Linked DNA regions of Homo sapiens: all the other regions are linked to region 1. Evidence: promoter capture Hi-C in human tissues and cell types (Jung and others, 2019). All regions are on one chromosome and are shown on one strand. The core of a region is centred on a gene start or on the middle of the fragment in contact, and the rest is flanking DNA. Distances in the headings are between cores, read along the strand shown.

Region 1 (3,312 bases), core at 682-3,181:
AAGAGCTGGGATTCAAACTGCCAAAGTCCGTGCTCCTAACCCACCTCTGCTGCTTCCTGTTCTTAGCCTCACTGCTTCTACCCCAAATTGACATCCATCTTTTCCCATTGCCCTTAGCCACCTAAGAATTAGAGGCCCAGAGGCTGGGCATGGTGGCTCACGCCTGTAATCCCAGCACTTTGGGAGGCCGAGGCAGGCAGATCAACTTGAGGTCAGGAGTTTGAGACCGGCCTGGCCAACATGGTGAAACCCTGTATCTACTAAAAAAAAATACAAAAATTAGCTGGGCTTGGTGGCATGCACCTGTAGTCCCAGCTACCTGGGAGGCTGAGGCAGGAGAATCGCTTGAACTTGGGAGGAAGAGGTTCTAGTGAGCTGAGGTCGCACCACTGCACTCCAGCCTGAGCAACAGACTGAGACTCCATCTCAAGAAAAAAAAAAAAAAAAAGAACTAGAGGCCCAGAGCCACTCGGCTTTGGGAATGCTCAGAAGCCCTCAACTTGCAACCTACTAACTCGTTTCTCCCTTTGTGGAATCCAGTGTTTCTTCTCTTCACCCTAGCCTGGGTCCCTTCGGGACTATAGTTGACTGAGCTCAGAGACCTTTTGGTTTTATCAAACTTATCTTTCCCTCCTGTTCACCCATTGCAGTTAACACTTAATTTCCACCAAGCTGCATCCACAAGCCCAGTGAATTTCCATCTCCAAGCACAGATGTCAAGAGGGCCTCCAGCTCCTGGTGCTTGCTAGTCATCATGTCGTCTGAGACGCAGCCACAGGGAGAGACTGATATCCTAGTGCCAGGGATGCCGGCTTCCAGGTCTGCATCTGCCACCTCCATGAGGCATCGGCCCCAGCAGTCACGTCTTTCTGTGACATTTATCACAGAAGCAATGAAGCCTCATGTCATTCCGTGTTTAACACCAGTCTCCCCCCGTAGAAGGGAGGCCCCATGGGGGCAGGGACCATGGCTGATTTGCTAAGAGCTCTCTCTTCAGTGCACATGGAAGCAAACACTAAATATTTGTTAAATGGTGGGTCTCCCCTCTGGGCCTCAGTTTCCTCGTATATAAAATGAGGAGGATGGGCCGAGTAACCTCAGCCCCTCTCCGGCCCTAACTTGGCGTGATTCCAGGATCGAGAAGAAGCAACAGGCCCCTGCCTGGGCCTATTATTGTCATCAGCGTCCAGCCCTGCTGGAAGCAGAGGGAGGGGTATCAATAAATAATGAACACATTTAAAATTCATTATGAGATTATTTTCTGAGAACAGGGAAAGAGCAGGGGCACAGAATGGGAAGGAAGCAGAAGAGATGAGCCCAGAAAGGGGAAGCCTGGGACATGAAGTGATATTAACAATGAACACGTGCACAGCCCTTTACAGTTTACCCCCAGACACTTCCTCCCCCATCATTTCCTCCATTATCCTCCCAGTGGCCTGTGAGATCTGTATCTGTAGAGCAGGTACAATTATGGTCCCATCCTATAGCAGAGAAAATTGGGGCTCCCTTGACTGACAACACATCAACTGGCAAGTGGCAGAGGCGGGATTGGAATCAAAGGCTCTGACTGTAAGCCAGCACTCAGGCAGCGGGCCCGCCACATGATGCTCACTGAGGAACACCCCTGCCCAGTGTAGAAGAAGATCACGAGGTCAGAGAGCCTGGGAGGGTGAGCTGTGGATGTTCCCCCAGGACAGCGTGTTCTCCCCACAGCTGCTGAGTTGGCAGAACCAAACTTGCCACCCACCCGTCTCATTTACAGTAAATCCAGTGGGTTGCAGAAATAGGACCTGAAACTGCCTGAGGGCAGCAGGGTGGGGGGACAGTGAGGGGACGGGAAAGGGGCCAGCCTGCTGGTCCATGGGAGGGGACCGTCAGGGGAAAGCCCTTCCCGCCTCTGGGGAAGGGAACTTCCGCTTCGGACCGAGGGCAGTAGGCTCTCGGCTCCTGGTCCCACTGCTGCTCAGCCCAGTGGCCTCACAGGACACCAGCTTCCCAGGTGAGGACGGGGCTTGGCGCCTGGGGGAGGCTGGCAGGGCCAATATGGCAGAAAGTGGTGATTCCGTAAGTGTGAGCTTTGCGTCACCTGCCTCGGAGCCAGTTAGGCTGTTTAACAGTGCAGGTAGCTGGGCCCAATCCCAGACCTATGGGACCCAGATCTCTGGGGTGAGTTGGGGAGTCTGCTGCTACCCAGGGCCTAGCGGATGGGCAGGCCACCTAAAGCGGGAGCCTGGCACATAGGAGCTTTGGCATCGCAGAGACTTGAGCTGAGTCTGGCTCTGCACCTTATGTATTGGTTATCTTGGGCAAGTCACCTAACCTCTCTCAGCCCGGCCCCCCTACAGAGAACAGAATCTTTCAGCACTGCTGTGCCTTACAGGAGATCAAGCTTGCAAAAGCTTAGTGCATGCCCTGGCTCAAAATTTATCAGTAAACCAGAGGCAGGAGTGGGATTATAAGCCAGTCGCTCCTGCCCGGCCCAGCATTTCCCCAACACCTTGCTTATTTCCTCATACTCGCTGAGAAAGCTCAGCTTGACTCTTCCAAAGAAATAAGGGGATGTGCAGGTAGAGTTACGATGAGTTCTCAGCTAGTACTGAGTGAGCGCAATGTTTGTGCAGCTGGGGAGTGGGATGTGGCACTGCACGGGGCAGGGGGGACCTTATTTCTTCTAAGCGCCTTCTCCTGTCATCCTTCTGGCAGCCCTGTCAGGTTGAAATCAGCATTGCCAAGAGGCTCAGAGAGGTTAAGGCACTTGCCTGAGGTTATGCAGCCGGTAGCAGATGGGGCTTTAAAGTCAAGTGGGCCTGACTCCATGTTGCGGAAAGGGACTGCTGGACCGAAGGAGATGGAAAGGTCAGAGCCTGGGGGGAGGACAGGAGAAACCGCGCTGGCAATGATGATGGGCTGGCACAGGCAGGAGGCAGTTAAACCAGATGAGTTGTAAGCCCTAACCCAAGGCTGAAACTCGGTGGCTTTTGAAATGGGCTAGAACCAGCACTTTCCCACTCCCCCTGCCCCTGGCTTCCCCAGGAAGCCCAAGTCCTGTCAGTACCCTGCTCCCCACCCTCTCTCCCCACCAACTGGTCACAGCTCTCCACCCCTTGCTGCCTCCAACTGACAGAGCCCCTCCCTCTAAACACAGTCTTTCAAAGGGATTGTCTTTTTTTACTTCTCCAACCATCTTCCCTTCTGTTCAACCACTCAGGAATTCTTGGATGACAGTGATAATAATAAAATAGCTAATATTCATTAAGAATTTCCAACATGCCAGGCTCTGTTGGAAGCTGTAACTCATGTCCTCGCACATAC
Region 2 (3,427 bases), core at 862-3,361, 330 kb after region 1:
CTGCAGAGACCAGCCCTGCCCCTCCCGAATTTAACTAGACGGGAACCCACAGCGTGTCATACAGCACAGTGGCCCCAGGATGGCAGTAGATGCCCATGTGTAAGATCTCTGGCCCAGCCTGAGCCTCCTTTAAAGGGTAATTTACTTGCATGTGTCTCTTCCTCCAGGCCCTTGTCCAGGGGCTTTCCATCCATGAACCAAGATATTCCCCACAATATCCCCATAGGGAGGAATTATTCACCATCATTTACACACGAAAGATCATGTTCATCCTTTGCCCTTCATGGCCGCTTCCTACTCTTTGGGGAAAAACCAAAAACCTTACATGCGTAGTTTAAACCTATCCAGTAGATGTCCCTATGGGTCAGGCTGCAAGAGTTCAAATTCCAGCTTCCCCACTTATTACCGGTGTGACTTTGGTTGGATTTCTTGGCTTCTCTTGGACCTCAATGTGCTCATCCATAAAATGGGGTAATGAAGTAGAACCCACCTCCTTGCAGGGAGGAGTGAGGATTGCATGAAATAATACACCTAAAATGTACAATCCAGTAGCTGGCACGCAGCAAGTGCTCAGCAAATGTTAGTCACTCTTATTACCATGAGTCTCATTGGCCTCTCCTCCTGGGAGAAACTAATTGTCCTCACCCTCTGCATCAGGACCTTTAAGAAAGAAGAATGTGGGCCGGGCATGATGGCTCATGCCTATAATCCCAGCACTTTGGGAGGCCAAGGCAGGCGGATCACTGGAGGTCAGGAGTTTGAGACCAGCCTGGCCAATATGGCGAAACCCCATCTCTACTAAAAATACAAAAATTAGCCAGGCGTGGTGGTGGGCACCTGTAGTCCCAGCTACTTGGGAGGCTAAGGCTGGAAAATCGCGAACCCAGAAGGCAGAGGTTGCAGTGAACCGAGATCACGTCATTGCCCTCCAGGCTGGGTGACAGCAAGACTCTGTTGAAAGAAAGAAAGAGAGAAAGAGAGAGAAAAAAAAAAAAAGGAAGGAAGGAAGGAAGGAAAGAAGGAAGGAAGCAAGGAAGGAAGGAAGGAAGGAAGAAGAATGTGGGCCAGGCACAGTGGCTCAAGCCTGTAATCCCAGCACTTTGGGAGCCAGAGGTGGGCAGATCTCTTGAGGTCAGGAGTTCGAGACCAGCCTGGCCAACATGGCAAAACCCCATCTCTACTAAAAATACAAAAATTAGCCTGGCATGGTGGCGGGTGCCTGTAGTCCCAGCTACTTGGGAGGCTGAGGCACAAGAATCCCTTGAACTCGAGAGGCAGAAGTTGCAGCAAGCCGAGATCACACCACTTCACTCCATCCTGGGTGACAGAGCAAGAGAAATAAAGAGAGAAAGAGGGAAGGAGAGAAAGAAAAGAAAGAAAGAAGGAAAGAAGGAAGGAAGGAAGGAAAGAAAAAGAGAAAGAAAGATGAAAGAAAGAAAGAAAGAAAGAAAGAAAGAAAGAAAGAAAGAAAGAAAGAAAGGAAGGAAGAAAGAAAAAGAAAGAGAAAGGAAGGAAGAAAGAGGTTGAAAAGATATCAAATCAAAGGCAAATTAAACTTTAAAAAGGGCCAGATGTGGTAGCTCATGCCTGTAATCCCAGCACTTTGGGAGGCCGAGGTGGGTGGGATCATGAGGTCAGGAGATGGAGACCATCCTGGCTAACACAGTGAAACCTCATCTCTACTAAAAATATAAAAAATTAGCCAGGTGTAGTGGCATGCGCCTGTAGTCCCAGCTACTCAGGAGGCTGAGGCAGGAGAATCTCTTGAACCCAGGAGGCAGAGGTTGCAGCGAGCCAAGATTGCGCCACTGCACTCCAGCCTGGGCAACAGAGACATACTCCATCTCAAAAAAAAAAAAAAAACTTTACAAAGGAAAATGTTCCTCCTAAAGGATATATGAAGATACTTAGCATTTTCAGCAGTCAGGCTTTGATTGATTCATTGATTCATCCATTCACTCACTTACCCACTGAGTCATGCAACAGACATTTACTGAACATCTGCCATTCCCTGGGTCTTACACTTGGGTGTGGGGCAAAGCAGATATAGTAACAGATATTCATTGTCAGTGCATTTTTATTGAGCACCTACTCAGCGCTAGGCACTGTTCTTGGTGCTTCAGATATATCAGTGAACAACACAAAGGTCCCTGACCTGGTAGAGCCCATCTTCTAGCAGGGGCAACAGGATAAATAAGTTAAATGCTGCATTACAAAGTGATACATGACCAGGCACAGTGGCTCACGCCTGTAATCTCAATACTTTGAGAGGCTGAAGCAGGTGGATCACTTGAGGCCATGAGCTCCAGACCAGCCTAGGCAACACAGGGGAGACTCTGTCTCTATACAACATTTTTTTAAAAAAACAAAATTGGCCGGGTGCAGTGGCTTACGCCTGTAATCCCAGCACTTTAGGAGGCCAAGGCAGGCAGATCGTGAGGTCAGGAGATCAAGACCATCCTGGCTAACACGGTGAAACCCCATCTCTACTAAAAAAAAAATACAAAAAAATTAGCTGGGCATGGTGGCGGGCGCCTGTAGTCCCAGCTACTCGGGAGGCTGAGGCAGGAGAATGGCGTGAACCCGGGAGGCAGAGCTTGCAGTGAGCCGAGATCACACCGCTGCACTCCAGCCTGGGTGACAGAGCGAGACTCTGTCTCAAAAAACAAAAACAAAAAAAACAAAACAAACAAAAAAAAGAAACAACAAAATTAGCCAGGCGTGGTGGCGCATGCCTGTAGTCCCAGCTACTCAAGGAAGCTAATGAGTGAGGATCACTTGAGCCTAGGAGGTCAAGGCTTCAGTGAACCATGAGCACGCCACTGCAATCCAGCCAGGGTAGCAGAAGAAAACCTGTTTCCAAAAATAAAAATAAATTAAAAATAAAATAATATATGTCATGGTAAAATAAATAGAGCTGGGTAAGAGGGGTAGATTAGAGTATTAAATTGGGAGATCAGAATGGGCCTCATTGAGAAAGAAGCATTTAGCAAATCACCTAAGGGAAATAAGAGAGTTAGCTATATGGACAACAGAGGAATAGTGTTCACAGTAGAGGGAACAGCCAGTGCTCAGGCCTTAGGGTGGAATGTGCCTGGTGTGTTAAAAGAATAGCAAGGAAGCCAGTGGCTGGAGCAGACTAAGCAAAGGGCAAAGTAGTAGGTGAGGTAGGGAAGTAAGAGGTCAGGATGGTCACATAGAACCTTCTAGGCCACAGGAAGGACTTTGGCTCCCCTCTGAGTGAAGTGGGAGCCTTTGCAGAGTTTGAAAGCAGAGGAGTAGCACAATCTGACTCACATTTTTTTTAAGGCAGGGTCTTACTCTGTTGCCCAGGCTGGAGTGTAGTGGTATGATCATAGCTCACTGCAGCCTCAAACACCTGGGTTCAAGGGATCCTCCCACCTCGGCCTCCCAAAACACTGGGATT
Region 3 (3,274 bases), core at 361-2,860, 390 kb after region 1:
ACTACCCAGTGGAAGTCTTCAAGCACATATCTGTGGTGTTATTGTTCTTTCAGCAGTTCAGTGGAAGTTCCAGGCAAGCTCCTGCTTCAAGCAAAACAATTTTTCTTTTTTTCTAAACCTTAAGAAGGCTGTTTTACTTCAGTATTTTACATGATACTGTAACCCAGGGATTGCTATTCTAGTTGGAACTCATAATTTCATTTTGACTGTTGCTCAGGCTGGTCTTGAACTCCTTGTTGTAAGTGATCCTCCTGACTTGGTCTCTCCCAAAGTGCTGGGATTACAGGTGTGAGCCACTGTCAATTCCTTTTTGAAACTGTGACTTTCCTTATGTTCATGAGATTAATCATGCATTTATGACTGCTTCAAATTATCTGAGCCTATTATTACTTCCATGCTATTTTGAAGTCTTTTAGCCCCATTCTTACTTCTGAGTTCTATTGTTTAATTTCCAACCATCTTTAGAACATTTCCATTTAATTGTATTAGCCAGTCTCCCAAATTTCCCATTTTGTTTGTAGCATTACTAGTCTTCTGAACTTAAAACCCTAGAGTCATCCTGAAAGTTCTTTATCCCTTTTACCAAGTCTGTTGTAAAGTCATGCATCTTACTGTGCAGTCTTTTTCATTTTTTAGGCCTTACCCATTTTTACTGTCACCTTTTTCTAGTGAATTTCAACTTGTATGTAAATTATTTCAATAGCCTTTGAATTGGATCTCCTTTATCTAGGTTTTCCCTCTAATCCATCTCGTACAAAGTGGCCAGATTAGTTTAACTAAAATAGCATTTGTTTTGTTGTCTTTGTGCCAAAGATCACACACTTTTCCTTCATTACTACTAAAATCACGTTCAGGTTTGGGTACTGGAAAGGGATCATTTTACCAATCCACTTGATCTCCCACTGCTTTTTCAGACCATCTCCTTCTGAAAGTAGGTACCGAGCAGTCCTCTGCACATACCATGTCTGTGCTTTTCTCTTTATCTTTGTAAATGATCTGGACCATAGTCGTGGTTTCACTGCCTCGCAGTCTATCCAGATCTCTCGGGAATTGTTCTGAAAGCTTCCCTGATTCTCCAAGACTGTGTCAGCTTCTCGTTTCTTAACAACAAAAGTTTCCTTGTAGGTATTTTTCATCTTTTCTCAACTAGATTATAAGCTTTTTGAAAACAGAGAGTCTACCTGTTCTACTTTTGTATTTGTGCTTTGCAGTTTTGGGGCAGATACGGTAAACACTGATTATTAAATAAGAAACTCAATTAGTGCGTTAATACGGTAGAGACATATATTCCAAGTTGGCTTTAACTTTTGAAATGTTTCTTTCACCTGCTAATTTATTAAATTCAATTGAAATCAGTAGGTTGGCCTTCACTTTTATTCCATAAATTTGGCCATTTTGGTAAATTTATCTTCTATTGGAAAATCGTTGCTTCCTAGATTTAGAAGTTTCTTAAAATGTTTGTAATTTGAATGTGATTCCAAGAAACTAGTCAAAATGTGAATCTGTGTTTCTGGAAACAACCAACCAGTGATTTTCACCTCCTTGTTTGTTTGCCAGATAAAAGCATTTGAAAGTCAACATAGACTTCCTTTTAAGATGTTGGAAGAGTGATCTCTTGAGTATTTGAATTCAGATGAGAAAACATTCAGTAATGTGATTATAACTACAACACTTCACGCTTCAAGAAGGACTCTTAGATCTGAAGGTCTAGAAGACAACTGAAAGGCTGTTATGTAAGATAAATCAAAAAGATCTTCATTTTCAATTTGGAGTAGCTGTGTACAAATAAGCTGTATGAAGAGTCTCTACTTTAGGCCGATTGTGGTGGCTCACGCTCATAATCCTGTTGCTTTGAGAGGCTGAAGTGGGAGGCTAGGAGTTCAAAAACAGCCTGGGCAACATATCGAGAACTCGTCTCTACAAAAAAAAAAAAAAAATTAGCCAGGTATGGTGGTACATGCCTGTAGTCCTAGCTACTCAGGAGGCTGAGGCAAGAGGATCCCTTGAGCTCAGGAGTTCAAGGTTACAGTGAACTGTGATTGCACCACTGTACTCCACCCTGGGCGACAGAGCAAGACCTTGTCTCTAAAAATAATTAAAAAATTAAAAAGAGTCTCTGCTTCAAGCTTGAGGACTATTTTGTAGGTTTGGTGGTTTGGGATAAAAACAAAAGGGAGTTTCTTGTGTAGTGGTGCCAAAATCAAGGTGATATTACAAAGTTGCTTTTGAATATTTTCATTTTCTGTTTTGAATTTGCACTCATGGAAAGCTAACAGCGCTACTTGCCTGCTGTTAATGTGTCCTGAGCCACTATCAGAAACAGAGTCCTAGGCTGGAAAGACCCAAAGAGCAGATGAATAAGGGATTTTATATATATCATAATCAGAGACTACTTGGATGAAAAGTTAGCTGCAAGCAGTGTTGTGTATGTGCTGTTTTTAAGAAAATGTTCAAGAATTGGTCTATAATATACTGCTAGTAAAGATGATCTTTCAGTTGTCTTTGGAGAAGTAGGCATCTTCAAAATACTCTCAAGTATGATTGGAGTGAAAATAATAACTTCATTCTTTATTTCCAAGCAAGTTAAACCATTATCAAGAGATAAATAACTTGTTTCTTAATTTAATTTTAAGCACTTTTAAATTTTGTTTTCCATCATTTCTTATGTGGTACCTTCTGCTTGGTTTCTTTCTACTCCTCTGCTTAAATAATACTTTTGAGTTTCTTTTCTTGCTTTTTTTTTTTTTTTTTTTTTTTTGGAGACCGAGTCTTGCTGTGTTGCCCAGGCTGGAGTGCAGTGGTGCAATCTCGGCTCACTGCAACCTCCACCTCCCGAGTTCAAGCGATTCTCCTGCCTCAGCCTCCTGAGTAGCTGGGATTACAGGTGCATACCATAGCGCCTGGCTAATTTTTGTATTTTTAGTAGAGACAGCGTTTCACCATGTTGGTCAGGCTGGTCTTGAACTCCTGACCTCGTGATCCGCCCACCTCGGCCTCCCAAAGTGCTGGGATTACAGGCGTGAGCCACTGTGCCCAGCCTGGAGTTTCATTTCTTTTTTGACATTTTGTTGTTATGGGATCCCTTTTAAAAATCTTTGCAGGGTATTGAATATTTTCTACATTTTCCTGCATTTTTTTAAATTAAAAAAAATCTTTTTAAGAGGTTTTTTAATTCCTTTCTTCAAAACCAGAAGACAAAAAAGACTGCCTCGTTGCCCTTTTGTCCTGGTTAACCTATTGAGTACGCAAGTCAGGGGTAAGAAATCCATCTTTT
Region 4 (3,598 bases), core at 548-3,047, 290 kb after region 1:
GTGCAAAGGTCCAGGGGCCTTTTGCAGAGCCACCATTGGCCCATATGGATGCCTGCTCTGGGAGGACCTGGATTTGCACCAGGACACATGCCAAGTGGCATATGGGCTGGAATTCAGCCCCTGCATTCCCACTGGGCACCCTGGGTGCTGCTCTGGAAGCTGCCTGCCTCCACCTCACTCCAGTCTGAGGATATCTCCTTCTCTCCCTCAGTGCCTTCCAAAGGTGCTCCCCTCCCTGCCTACCTTGCAGAGCTCTTTTTGCAAGTTTAGGCTCTGACCAAAAGAGTAGAGCAACTGCCTGTAAGTAGCTTCTCTTCCACCCAGCAAGATTCCCAGAGTGAGAAGAAAAAATACTAAAGCCCTGGCAGTTTCCTTTAAAAAAGAGAAAGATGGCCTGGCGCAGTGGCTCACACCTGTGATCCCAGCACTCTGGGAGGCCAAGGCAGGAGGACTGCTTAAGCCCAGGAGTTCGAGACCAGCTTAGGCAACAAAGTGACACTTTGTCTCAACAAAAAAAAATTTTCTAAATTAGCCAAGCATGGCATGAGCCTGTGATGCCAGCTACATGGGAGACTAGGGTAGGATTGCTTGAGCCCAGCAGCTTGAGGCTGCAGTGAGCCATAATCGTGCCTGTCTCAAAAAAATAAAAACAAAACAAAGCGATATCCTGTCTCAAAAACATAAAAACAAAATAAAATAATTTTCAAAAAGAAAAAAATATAGTGAGAACAAACACAAATTAACTTTTTTTCTTTTTGAGACAGGGTCTCCTTCTGTTGCCCAGGCTGGAGTGTCGTGGTGAGATCAATGCTCACTGCAGCCTTAATCTTCCAGGCTCAAGTAATCCCCCTACCTTAGCCTCCCTAATAGCTGGGACCACAGGTGTGCATCACCACACCCAGCTAATTTTTTAAAAAAATTTTCTAGACACAAGGTCTCACTATATGGCCTAGGCTAGTCTCAAACTCCTGGACCTTGGCCTCTCAAAGTGCTGGGATTACAGACATGTGCCATTATGCCTGGCCTAATTCTTGATATATTATCCTGCTCCACACTCATAAACGCAAAGGCTCAGTGCAGTTTACATCAGTGCTGTTCATGACTCAATTTTGGTTGGGTACCTCATAACTGTTCCAGTTTTCTCTTGTCGTGTAATAAAGAACTTCAATACTTAGTGACTTAAAACAAACAGTAATTGCATTATTAATTATCAACTAGTTGAATGTTGTTATTGTAATTCATTCATTGCATTATTATTCATATTAATTATTTTATTTTTTCTTATTATACTTTAAGTTTTAGGGTACATGTGCACAACGTGCAGGTTTGTTACATATGTATACATGTGTGCCATGTTGGTGTGCTGCACCCATTAACTCATCATTTAGCATTAGGTATATCTCCTAATGCTATCCCTCCCCCTTCCCCCACCCCACAACAGTCCCCAGTGTGTGATGTTCCCCTTCCTGTGTCCATGTGTTCTCATTGTTCAATTCCCACCTATGAGTGAGACAAGGCGGTGTTTGGTTTTTTGTCCTTGCGATAGTTTGCTGAGAATGATAGTTTCCAGCTTCATCCATGTCCCTACAAAGGACATGAACTCATCATTTTTTATGGCTGCATAGTATTCCATGGTGTATATGTGCCACATTTTCTTAATCCAGTCTATCATTGTTGGACATTTGGGTTGGTTCCAAGTCTTTGCTATTGTGAATAGTGCCGCAATAAACATATGTGTGCATGTGTCTTTATAGCAGCCAGATTTATAATCCTTTGGGTATATACTCAGTAATGGGATTGCTGGGTCAAATGGCATTTCTAGTTCTAGATCCCTGAGGAATCGCCACACCGACTTCCACAATGGTTGAACTAGTTTACAGTCCCACCAACAGTGTAAAAGTGTTCCTATTTCTCCACATCCTCTCCAGCACCTGTTGTTTCCTGACTTTTTAATGATCGCCATTCTAACTGGTTTGAGATGGTATCTCACTGTGGTTTTGATTTGCATTTCTCTGATGGCCAGTGATGATGAGCATTTTTTCATGTGTTTTTTGGCTGCATAAATGGCTTCTTTTGAGAAGTGTCTGTTCATATCCTTCGCCCACTTTTTGATGGGGTTGTTTGTTTTTTTCTTGTAAATTTGTTTCAGTTCATTGTAGATTCTGGATATTAGTCCTTTGTCAGATGAGTAGGTTGCAAAAATTTTCTCCCATTCTGTAGGTTGCCTGTTCACTCTGATGGTGGTTTCTTTTGCTGTGCAGAAGCTCTTTAGTTTAATTAGATCCCATTTGTCAATTTTGGCTTTTGTTGCCATTGCTTTTGGTGTTTTAGACATGAAGTCCTTGCCCATGCCTATGTCCTGAATGGTATTGCCTAGGTTTTCTTCTAGGGATTTTATGGTTTTAGGTCTAACATGTAACTCTTTAATCCATCTTGAATTAATTTTTGTATAAGGTGTAAGGAAGGGATCCAGTTTCAGCTTTCTACATATGGCTAGCCAGTTTTCCCAGCACCATTTATTAAATAGAGAATCCTTTCCCCATTGCTTGTTTTTGTCAGGTTTGTCAAAGATCAGATAGTTGTAGATATGCGGCATTAATTCTGAGGGCTCTGTTCTGTTCCATTGGTCTATATCTCTGTTTTGGTACCAGTACCATGCTGTTTTGGTTACTGTAGCCTTGTAGTATAGTTTGAAGTCAGGTAGCGTGATGCCTCCAGCTTTGTTCTTTTGGCTTAGGATTGACTTGGCAATGCGGGCTCTTTTTTGGTTCCATATGAACTTTAAAGTAGTTTTTTCCAAGTCTGTGAAGAAAGTCATTGGTAGCTTGATGGGGATGGCATTGAATCTATAAATTACCTTGGGTAGTATCACCATTTTCACGATATCATTTCCCTCTTAACAATTCATAGAACAACAGATGGAAAATCATGAAGGATACAGAATTCAATACCTACAACCAACAGGATCTAATCGGCATCCAACAATCCACCCAACAATAGCAGAACACACATTGTTTTCAAGCACCAATGAAATATATACCAAGATAGACCACACCCTGAGCCACAAAACAAACCTCAACAAACTAAAAAAACAACTGAAATCATACAAAATGTGTTCTCTGACCACAGTGGAATCAAACTAGAAATCAACAGTATAGAGATAACATGAAAATCTCTGAACCCTTTGAAACAAAGCTATACACTTATAAATAATTCATGTGGTCAAAGAATAGATCTCAAAAGAAATTTAACAATATATTTACTTTAATGAGAATAAGAATACTCCATATTAACACATGTGGGGCATAGCTAAAGCAGTGGTAAGAGGGAAATTGATAGCAATAAATGCTTACATCAGAAAAGAGGAAGCAGTCCTCCCACCTTAGACTTCCTAATAGCTGGGACCACAGGTGTGCATCACCACACCCAGCTAAATTTTTTTTTAATTTTCTAGACACAGGGTCTCACTATGTGGCCTAGGCTGGTCTCAAACTCCTGGGCCTTGGCCTGTCAAAGTGCTGGGATTACAGACATATGCCATTGTGTCTGGCCTAATTCTTGATATATTATCCTGCTCCACACTCATAAATGCAAAGGC

The links. The method cuts DNA at HindIII sites, captures the fragments that hold promoters and counts their contacts. A contact is called where the count stands out against the background at its distance.
Region 2: a contact is called between a fragment that was not itself captured here and the fragment with the promoter of C1QB in region 1, in 1 of the 25 tissues and cell types used here (liver).
Region 3: a fragment that was not itself captured here is called in contact with the fragment with the promoter of C1QB in region 1 in 1 of the 25 tissues and cell types used here (adrenal gland).
Region 4: a contact is called between a fragment that was not itself captured here and the fragment with the promoter of C1QB in region 1, in 3 of the 25 tissues and cell types used here (bladder, liver and mesenchymal stem cells).

Annotation. Positions count from the first base shown.
Region 1 is chr1:22,651,305-22,654,616 of GRCh38, forward strand. C1QB (complement C1q B chain) reads left to right here and starts at 1,932. Exons shown (of 3, transcript NM_001378156.1): 1 at 1,932-1,999. The HindIII fragment of the contact is 7,433 bases long and covers 1-3,312 here.
Region 2 is chr1:22,976,526-22,979,952 of GRCh38, forward strand. No RefSeq gene overlaps it. Among named protein-coding and RNA genes, the nearest start is that of LACTBL1, 5.4 kb to the left of the region's middle. The HindIII fragment of the contact is 8,506 bases long and covers 1-3,427 here.
Region 3 is chr1:23,038,702-23,041,975 of GRCh38, forward strand. The region is part of intron 2 of KDM1A (lysine demethylase 1A); the gene reads left to right. Among named protein-coding and RNA genes, the nearest start is that of MIR3115, 4.0 kb to the right of the region's middle. The HindIII fragment of the contact is 3,708 bases long and covers 1-3,274 here.
Region 4 is chr1:22,936,808-22,940,405 of GRCh38, forward strand. No RefSeq gene overlaps it. Among named protein-coding and RNA genes, the nearest start is that of LACTBL1, 34 kb to the right of the region's middle. The HindIII fragment of the contact is 7,465 bases long and covers 1-3,598 here.